2 separate regions of the Homo sapiens genome follow, and region 1 is linked to region 2. The links are contacts of gene promoters, found by promoter capture Hi-C in human tissues and cell types (Jung and others, 2019). All regions are on one chromosome and are shown on one strand. Each heading gives the region's core, a stretch centred on a gene start or on the middle of the fragment in contact. The rest is flanking DNA. Distances are from core to core; before and after follow the strand shown. Region 1 overlaps RIPPLY2-CYB5R4 (RIPPLY2-CYB5R4 readthrough). Region 2 holds the start of SNAP91 (synaptosome associated protein 91).

What was found. The method cuts DNA at HindIII sites, captures the fragments that hold promoters and counts their contacts. A contact is called where the count stands out against the background at its distance.
Region 1: a fragment that was not itself captured here is called in contact with the fragment with the promoter of SNAP91 in region 2 in 2 of the 25 tissues and cell types used here (H1 embryonic stem cells and thymus).

What each region holds. Positions count from the first base shown.
Region 1 is chr6:83,961,557-83,966,412 of GRCh38, reverse strand. RIPPLY2-CYB5R4 (RIPPLY2-CYB5R4 readthrough) reads right to left here. Exons shown (of 18, transcript NR_174604.1): 18 at 1-4,856. It overlaps CYB5R4 (cytochrome b5 reductase 4), which reads right to left. Exons shown (of 16, transcript NM_016230.4): 16 at 1-4,856. Among named protein-coding and RNA genes, the nearest start is that of LINC02857, 57 kb to the left of the region's middle. The HindIII fragment of the contact is 3,037 bases long and covers 1,109-4,145 here.
Region 2 is chr6:83,707,455-83,712,608 of GRCh38, reverse strand. SNAP91 (synaptosome associated protein 91) reads left to right here and starts at 3,508. Exons shown (of 30, transcript NM_001242792.2): 1 at 3,508-3,764; 2 at 4,652-4,811. The coding sequence starts at 4,682. It overlaps LOC105377879 (a long non-coding RNA gene), which reads right to left and starts at 3,167. Exons shown (of 3, transcript NR_136251.1): 1 at 2,890-3,167. RefSeq lists silencers at 3,236-3,295, 3,626-3,835, 4,245-4,539. The HindIII fragment of the contact is 7,193 bases long and covers 107-5,154 here.

The DNA of each region.
Region 1 (4,856 bases), core at 1,378-3,877, 250 kb before region 2:
GGCCTCCTTTTTATTTTTATTTTTTTAAAGATTTATTTTTACTCTTTTCTTCTTATATAATATGTATTTCCTCTTATGTTCTTTCTAGTTTAGTCTTAGTACCCAAAAACATTTTTATATCTTTACTGAGATATGGTTCAAATTAGATACAATTCATCTACTTAAAATGTACAATTCAACATTTTTAGGTATATTCATAAGTATGTGCAACCATAACCACAGTAAACTTCAGAATATTTTAGCATTTCAAAAACACCCTCCCAACCCTTTAGTTATTATCCCCTATTCCTGTATCCCCTGAACAGCCACTTAATTACTTTATGTCTCATAGATTTTCCTGTTCTAGACATTTCATAGGAATAGAATCACTGCTGATAAAGACATACCCAAGAAATTAAGCCAAGAAAAAGAGGTTTAATTGGACTTATAGTTCCACATGGCTGGGGAGGCCTCAGAATCATGGCGGTAGGTTAAAAATACTTCTTACAGGGTGGCAGCAAGAGAAATGAGTAAGATGCAAAAGCGGAACCCCCTGATGAAACCATCAGATCTCATGAGACTTATTCTCTACCATGAGAACAGTATGGGGGAAACCACCCCCATGATTCAAATTATCTCCCACCAGGTCCCACGTATAACACATGGGAATTATGGGAGTATAATTCAAGATGAAATTTGGGTGGGGACACAGAGCCAAACCATATCATCCCACCCCTGGCTCCTCCAAATCTTATGTCCTCACATTTCAAAACCAATCATGCATTCCCAACAGTACCCCAAAGTCTTAAATCATTTCAGCATTAACCCAAAAGTCCACAGTTCAAAAGTCTCATCTGAGACAAGGCAAGTCCCTTCCACTTATGAGCCTGTAAAATCAAAAGCAAGCTAGTTACTTCCTAGATACAATGAGGGTACAGGTATTGGGTAAATACAGCCATTCCAAATGGGAGAAATTGGCCAAAACAAAGGGGTTACAGGGCCCATGGAAGTCCAAAATCCAGTGGGGCAGTCAAATTTTAAAGCTCCAAAATGATCTCCTTTTACTCCAGGTCTCACATCCAGGTCACGCTGATGCAAGAGGTGGCTTCCCATGGTCTTGGGCAGCTCTGGCCCTGTGGCTTTCAGGGTACAGCCTCCATCCTGGCTGCTTTCATGGGCTGGTGTTGAGTATCTGCAGCTTTTCCAGGCACCTGGTACAAGCTGTAAGTCGATCTACCATTCTGGGGTCTGGAGGACAGTGGTCCTCTTCTCACAGCTCCACTAGGCGGTGTCCCAGTAGGGACTCTGTGAGGGGGCTCCAACCCCACATTTCCCTTCTGCACTGCCCTAGCCGAGGTTCTCCATGAGAGCCCCGCCCCTGCAGCAAACTTCTGCCTGGGCATCCAGGCATTTCCATACATCTTCTGAAATCTAGACAGAGGTTCCCAAACCCCATTTCTTGACTTCTGTGCACCCACATGCTCAACATCACATGGAAGTTGCCAAGGCTTAAGGCTTTCACCCTCTGAAGCCATGGCCTGAGCTTCATGTTGGCCCCTTTCAGCCATGGCCGGAGTGGCTAGGAAACAGGGCACCAAGTCCTTAGACTGCACACAGCACAAGGACCCTAGGCCTTGCCCACAAAACCATTTTTACCATTTTTTCTTCCTAGACCTCCAGGTCTGTGATAGAAGAGGCTGCCACAAATGTCTCTGACATGCCCTGGAGACATTTTCCCCATTGTCTTGGAAATTAACATTCAGTTCCTTGTTACTTATGCAAATATCTACAGCCAGCTTGAATTTCTCCTCAGAAAATAGGATTTTCTTTTCTATCGCATTGTCAAGCTGCTAATTTTCTGAATTTTAATGCTCTGCTTCCCTTTTAAAACTGAATGCCTTTAACAACACTTGAGTCACCTCTTGAATGCTTTGCTGCTTAGAAATTTCTTCCACCAGATACCCTTAATCATCTCTCTCAAGTTCAGAGTTCCACAAATCTCCAGGGCAGGGGCAAAATGCCGCCAGTCTCTTTGCTAAATCATAACAAGAGTCACCTTTGCTCCAGTTCTCAACAGGTTCCTCATCTCCACCTGAGACCACCTCAGTCTAGATTTCATTGTCCATATCATTATCAGTATTTTTGTCAAAGCCATTCAACAAGTCTCAAGGAAGTTCCAAACTTTCCCATTTTCCTGTCTTCTTCTGAGCCCTCCAAACTGTTCCAATCTCTGCCTGTTACCAAGTTCCAAAGTTGCTTCCACATTTCCCGGTATCTTTGCAGCAACACCTGCTCTACTGGTACCAATTTACTGTATTAGTCCATTTTCACGCTGCTGATAAAAGACGTACCTGAGACTGGGGAAAAAAAGGGGTTTAATTGGACTTACAGTTCCACATGGCTGGGGAGGCCTCAGAATCATGGCAGGAGGTGAAAGGCACTTCTTACATGGCGGCCGCAAGAGAAAATGAGTAAGATGCAAAAGCGGAAACCCCTGATAAAACCACCAGGTCTTGTGAGAGTTATTCACTACCATGAGAACAGTATGAGGGAAACTGCCCCCATGATTCAAATTATCTCCCACTGGGTTCCTCCCACAACACATGGGAATTATGAGAGTACAATTCAAGATGAGATTTGGGTGGTGACACAGAGCCAAACCATATCAGGATGTTTGGGTTGTTTCCACATTTTAACTCTACGTGTAATGCTGCACCCAAGATAATGCTTCCATTCCATGAATGGGGGATATGCATCAAAAGAGAACTTTAACAAAGAAAGTAAACTCATTTTTGAATTTTAAGATCACTTTGGCATTCTGTTTTGAGGTCTGCTAAACTTGCAATGCTGGGTGAAAATGACTTCAAAATAAAACCAATGTTGAAAGACACCAAGAGACTGTAACTACTTGAGATTCCATTTTTCCTTTATAATTTATTTGCCACAATGTTAAATACTGTAGATCATACAGAATCTGTTTTTTCTGCCCAAAAATGGGGGTCTGTTATCAACAGACTCAGCCCCAACCTCGTTCAGGACAAGCTTGTGTGGTTCAGAAGGTAGATCACAGAGCAGGTTGTACCCATGCCTTTGCCAGCATAATGAAGTTGACTCTTTTGGGGTGGGTGTCAAAGCTCCTCTCATGTTCTGTTACATTAAGGTAAAAACTGAGGGCCCATAGCAAGGGCCCCTATCTAGACAAAACCTAATCATCTTATCTTGGACAAATTTCTCTGTTCTTTCTATAGCCTGTGGTAGACACAATGTGCCCATCAAAGATGTCAACACCCAAATGCCTGCAACCTTTGAATATATTATATAGGAAAAGGGACTTTACAGCTATAATTAAAATTATAGATTTTTAAAATAGGAAGATTACCCTGGATATCTGGATAGGTCCAATCTAACCACATGAGATCTTAAAAGCAGTGAACTCTTGCTAGGGCAAGAAAGATATGGCAGAAAGGGAATTCAGAGAGATTGAAAGCATAAGATTCATCTACCAATGCTGAAGAAGCCCACAAGGGAATTCAGAGAGACTGAAAGCATGAGATTCATCCACTAATGCTGAAGAGGGCCACACAGAAAGTATGAGAAGGAATGTGGGCAAATTCTAGAAACAAAGACTAGCCCACAGCTAACAGCTAGCAAGGAAATGGGGAACTCAGTCCTACAACTGCAAGGAACTGAAATCTACCTAATGAGGCTGAAAGAACTCTTATCTAGGGACTTCCCCTTACAGCCTCTAGCTAAGAGCCCAGCTCAGCTGACAATCTGATTACAGCCTTGTGAGGCTTTAAGCAGAGGACCCAGTTGAGCCATATTGTGCCTAGATTTCTGTGCCATGGAACTGTGAGATAATAAATGGGTGTTGTTTTAAGCTACTAAGTTTGTAGTAATTTGATCTAGCAGCAATAGAAAATTAATAAACTTTTTTTTAAAAAAAGCAGAATTTGCAAGCAAATGTGACTTTGAGCGTAATTCTTCTTCACTGCAAATATGTGATGTAGGAGTCTTTGAGTTATTTGCTTGAGAATAACAGTGATAAACTATACTCCTATCTGTGCTCCTCAGTATTTGGTTGCATTCATTGGAAGACTGAGGCTCTACTTAGGGGATTTTTTCCTCCAAGTCCTTCTAGAATACCCTGGAATGGAGAATGAATTTTAGGAGATCAGGACTGCAGCATGAAGATGAATTATCAAGCTACTGTACTAATCCAGCTGAGGGATGATAGGACAGGGTTAGCTGGTATGGAAGAGTCAGACTGGAGAAGGGGACATTGATGTTGATTCCTAATAGTTCTAGAATGGCTTACTAGGTGGATGGTGGGGTGGTATGCAGGAAGTAAATGGATATTGAAAACTGAAGCTCAGCTGATTCTCAAATTAGTCACTCCCATTTGGGAATTAACATGTAAGTTGATAAAATCATGTCAGTGGAGATTACCCAGGAGACACTTATGGATTTGTTTTAAAATATAAACAAAATATAAATATAACAAAATATAATAAAATATAACAAAATATAAACAAAATATAAATAAAATATAAACAAAAATATAAAACATAAAAGGAGGAATGAGGAAGCATTACATATAGCGACTAATAGGAGATTCTGTTGCTTGGGAAAGGAGAGAGAAAAAAGAAGAGGCTTAGAAAAGATGAGAAAGATGTTGGCTAAGTTAGATTTGATACATCGCAAATGAACTAAAAAAAAGTGGTAAATAGTCTCTTTTTATATTAGTCTATTTTCACACTGCTATAAAGAACTACCTGAGACTGGGTAATTTATGAAGAAAAGAGGTTTAATTGACTCACAGTTCTGCATGGCTGGGGAGGCCTCAGGAAATGTACAATTATGGTAGAAAGCAAAGA
Region 2 (5,154 bases), core at 2,259-4,758:
TAAGATCTTCCAAAACAACCCACATTTCATATATTGGTTCCATCCTTGACATTATTTATTGATTATTTATTATAAGAATATGATACTTCTATAGTTGAGGGATTTTCAAACATTCTGCTAACACTATGTCAGGATGTTTATGTGTGGGATATTCTCCCATGTATAGTACCAGAGACATGGGTAGCATACCAAGAATAAGCTCTGGCTTCAAATACTTCCCAGTGTATTGTATGTAACTGCACACTATTATAGGATTGACTTTGAATCCATTCCAATCTATTTTGAAAAATAAATCATTCACAGATTGCATTATTTTAATTATTATTGGAAACATGTTATTTGCTCAAAACCTCTTAACTAATAGCAACATATGTGACATTACATCATTATTGGACTGTTGGAGAACCATTATTTTATACTACTTCCTCATTTTATGTAAATTGTCCAACTTATTGCACAATGTTGTTTATAACATTCTCTAATTTTTTAATGTCCATAGAATTGATTTCTCCTTTCACTCCTAAAATTGGAAATTTTTGCCATCTTATTTTTTCCTTGCTCAATCTGGCTAGTGGGGTTATCCATTTTGTGATCTTTTCCAAAAAATGGCTTTTGGTTTAATTGATTTTATCTATTATTTGTCATTTTCTCTTTCATTGATTTGTACTCTTTATTACTTCCTTCTTTCTGCTCATGTTGAATTCAATTTATTCTTTTTCTAGTGTCTTAAGGTTCAAACTCAAATAAATATTTTTAGATCTTTCTTCATTCCTAAGCATTTTAATGCTATAAATTTGCCTCTAATCACCACTTTGCCTGCAACCCACAAATTTTGATATGTTGGATTTTCATTATTATTTAGTTCAAATAAATTTCCAATTTTCTTATGAGAAAATTAGACCTATGGGTTATTTGGAATGTGTTGTTTAATTACCAAATATTTAGAGATTTCCATATATCTATCTGTCACCGATTTTTAGTTAAATTCCACTGTGGTAAGAGAACATAATGTGTATGATTATAATCCTTTTAAATTTATTGAGACTAGCTTCATGGCTTAGGATCAGTCAGTATGGTCAATCCTGGAGAATATTCCATGCACACTTTAAGAAAGTATTCCACTACTGTTGGGTGGACTATTTTATAAATGTCAATTAGGTGAAGTTGGTCTGCAGGACTATTTCTTTCTTTTTTTTTTTTTTTGTGAGACAGAGTCTTGCTCTGTCACCCCAGCTGAAGTGCAGTGGCGCGATGTCCGCTCACTGCAAGCTCCGCCTCCCGGGTTCACGCCATTCTCCTGCCTCAGCCTCCTGAGTAGCTGGGGCTACAGGCACCCACCACCACGCCCAGCTAATTTTTTTTTTTTTTTGTATTTTTAGTAGAGACGGGGTTTCACCGTGTTAGCCAGGATGGTCTTGATCTCCTAACCTCATGATCTGCCTGGCTCGGCCTCCCAAAGTGCTGGGATTACAAGCATGAGCCAACCGCGTCCGGCCTACAGGGCTATTTCAAGTCATCTATACCCTTACAGGTTTCCTGTCTACTTGTCCTATTTATTACATAGAGAAAAGTGCTGAAATCCTGAAGTATAATTGTGGATTTGCCTGTTTCTCCTTTTAATGCTATTAGGTTTTGCTTCGTCCTACTTTGAAGCTCTGTTCTTAGATATACAAACAAGTAGAATTGTTCCATGCTCTTAATGAATTTTTCATTATGAAATGTGCCTGTTTATTGCTATTAATATTCCTTATTGTAAAACCTACTTTGATATTAATATTGCCACTCCCAACTCTATCAGATTATATTGAGGTATAATTAACAAACAACAAAATTCGCCAATTTTAAGTGTACAAATTGATGAGTTTTGAGAAATACATGCAGCTGTATAATCATCATCACCGTCACGATATAAAACATTTCCATCTCTCCAAAAAGTTTCCTTCTGCCCCTTTGCAGTCCCCTCCCCCAATGCCACCGTCACCTGACTCGGCACCTGATGTGTTTTCTGTTTCTATAGTTTTGACTTTTCCAGAATGTTACATAAATGAAATCAAAATAATAAGTAGAATTTTTGATAGAGCTTCTTTCCCTTCGTCTAATGAATTTGAGATTCATGAATGGTATTAGTTTGTTTCTTGTTATTGCTAAGTAGTATTCCATTATGTGGATATACCATATTTTGTTTATTCATTTACTAGTAGAATAACATTTGGCTTTCCTCCAGTTTGGGGCCATTATATTAAGCTGCTATAAAACTGGAGTACAAGTTTTTTTAATAGAATTGCGTTTTTATTTCCCTTGTAAATATGGTAAGACTAGTACTTGAGACAATAGTGCTCTTAAGCTGTCTCTCTTTAGTCATTAAGCTTCCAATTAGTCCTAGAATCAGTCTCAGTAGTTAGGAAATCATGACTGCATACTGAACACTGTACCAGGTGAAAGAGAGGAATATATAACAAAACGTTGAGATCGATAGGTATCGATATATGGCTTCAAGGCCGAGCAGAAGCCACCCGAAGCAAGGAGAAAAAATGCCAGGAAAGCTCACAAATATAGTTTTGATCTTCATGCTACTGTGAGAATTAAAAAAAAAGGTGAACATAAATAACAACCTTTGAAAATGTCAACACGTGAAGCTATTAACCAACTCCACATCCCTGTTTAGAAATTCCTGCTTACTATTCGAATATACACTTGACATACAATTGACGGACGTTCCAACACTATATTTAATTGGCAGAAATTACTTCTTAAGGGTACAAAGGGTTTTCTTTATGCACGCAAATGATTACTGTCGAAGGTAATCTGGGACTCGATTAACGGCTGTGTTAATTATTCTCCCTTCAGCAGACCTCAGTATCCGTTTAAGACTAAAGTGGCTAGAATTACCTGCCCACCCGGGCTCCCAGTTGTAACTGAGACAAGCGGAGGAGCCTGAGGAGCTGAAGACGCACAGGTGACGGTCGCGGATGGCCGGCAGGATCTGACATTTAAAATCGCCCTGCTCATCTGGGCCTCGGAGCCTTTGACAGGCGGGCGTGTCAGCGACAGTGTGGGGAAGGGGCTGGGCTCCGCCAGGCAGCGCGCGACGACGCCCTTGCCTTGGCCTTCACAGAGTAGAACCCGAGAAGCCCACTCGCCCGTCTTGGCCAACGCCCCCAACGCCCAGGGCTCCCCCCGCAGTCGGCGGGCAGGTGTGCGTGGTGCGCGAGCCCAGTGCGTGCCGGGTGCGGCGCCAGCAGCGGAGGGGCGGCCCGGCGCCCAGCGGAGAGCCGCTGGCTGGGTGGGTGTCGGCCTCCCCGCCTCCTTCTTCTCCCCGCCGGCTTGCCGGGGATGCTTGCGCGAGGCGCCCCCTCGCCTTTAAGCTCCCGGCCCCGGGGGGCGGTGTGTGTGAGTAGCTGGGAGGGGGCCGCGAGGCGCTCCGCCGAGGGCTCGTCCGGGTTTGTCCGCCGCCGTCACCTGACTCGTCGGAGGAGCCACAGCTGAGGTGGGGGCGGGGATGGGGACGCAGCTCGGAGCGCTAGAGAGACGCGGCGGCGCTGGCAGAAGAGGCGGCGGCGGGCGGGTACTGGCTTCTGGGGCCAGGGGCCAGGGGCGGTGGGCGCCGGGACCGCGGAGCTGAGGAGCGGGGCCCGGCCAGGGCTGGAGACTTTGCGCCCGGGGGCACCGGGGCTACGCGCGGTCGCACACATCCACCGGCGCGGCTTCCCTCGGCGGCCCGGGCTCCGCTCATCCTGCGGCGGGCGGCGCCGCTCAGGGGCGGGGTGAGTACCCGCGGCCGTACTCGGCCCCCTCCCCGCGCCAGGGTCTCGCGGGGATCCGCAGAGGATAATCCCAGGGTGCGGAGAAGGGCAGCGGCCGAGTGACAGCTCCGCGGAGCGCTCCAGGGCGGGCGGGGGACTGGGCTTCGCTGTCAGCCCGGCTCCTCTCCAAAGCCAGGAAGGGTGAGGCGCCCCAAGACTCCGGCGCCTCCGCAGAGCTCCCGGGCGGCCCCTGCGGCAGGGATTTGGAACCGGGGGGAAGGGGCCCGGGCGATGGGCCTCGGCGAGGCTTTGGAGCCGGCGGCGAGGAAGGAAGGGGAGGCGAGGGCATAACATGGCGCAACGCTAGGATAATCTCCTTCGCGACTGAGGGAGGACGAGCCCTTTGCTGCAGCAGCGCGAGGAGGAGGAGGGAGGCAGCCAGGGCTTGGGTATCCGATGCATTCCCCGAAGCCTGCGGGCTGCTAGGAGGAAAGTCTGCTGAGGTGGGAGATGGGCACCGGTGGGTGCGGCGCCCAGGGAATAACCCCAACGCACGTTGTGGCTAGTCCAGCACCCGCGGGTCAGGTTGCGGGGAAAGTGCTGATTGACAGGGGGGTCCCCAGGGGGTGAGTCTGGCCCTATGTGGGGGCCGGGGGAGAATGGGGACGGTGTCACGATGCTGCGACTGGAGCCCACGCTGGGGTTCCGTGACGGCCCTACTCACGGCCAAGACTCCCTGGACCGCATCGCAGGAGCGGGGCTTGGCGCGTTGCTGGCTCCGAGAGGTGGTGCCAGGGTGGGGATGGAGGAGGAGAGAGCCGCCGCGCGGCTGGAGGAGGCAAGGCCTGGGTGCTTGGAGGGTAGGGTCTGCGGATTAAAGCCGGACCGTCTCCCCTTGTTTCCTGCAGAAGAGGAGGCGGTAGACGCGACCACAGAAGATGTCGGGCCAAACGCTCACGGATCGGATCGCCGCCGCTCAGTACAGCGTTACAGGCTCTGCTGTAGCAAGAGCGGTCTGCAAAGCCACTACTCATGAAGTAATGGGCCCCAAGAAAAAGCACCTGGACTGTAAGCATCTCTTTATATAAGAGGGACATGCGCACGGCAGAGGCGCCTGGGATGCTGGTGGTGCGGCCTGCGCTCTTGGTCCATAATGCTGTGGCCTCTGATACTCCCAGCCAGGTTGCCCCTGAGCTGAAATTCTTCAGCTGTGAAGGTGTTCCCTTGGGTTAGCCATGAAACCTTGTCTTGTGAGCCATTTTTTCCTCTTATTGACCTCCAAGGTCTTGGTGGAGGGGGAAAAATACACACACACACACACACACACACGCATATGTATATACACACACACAAGAGAGAGATTGTACACACTGAATTAGATGTTTTTCACCTTTTTTTCTTTCTCCACCCA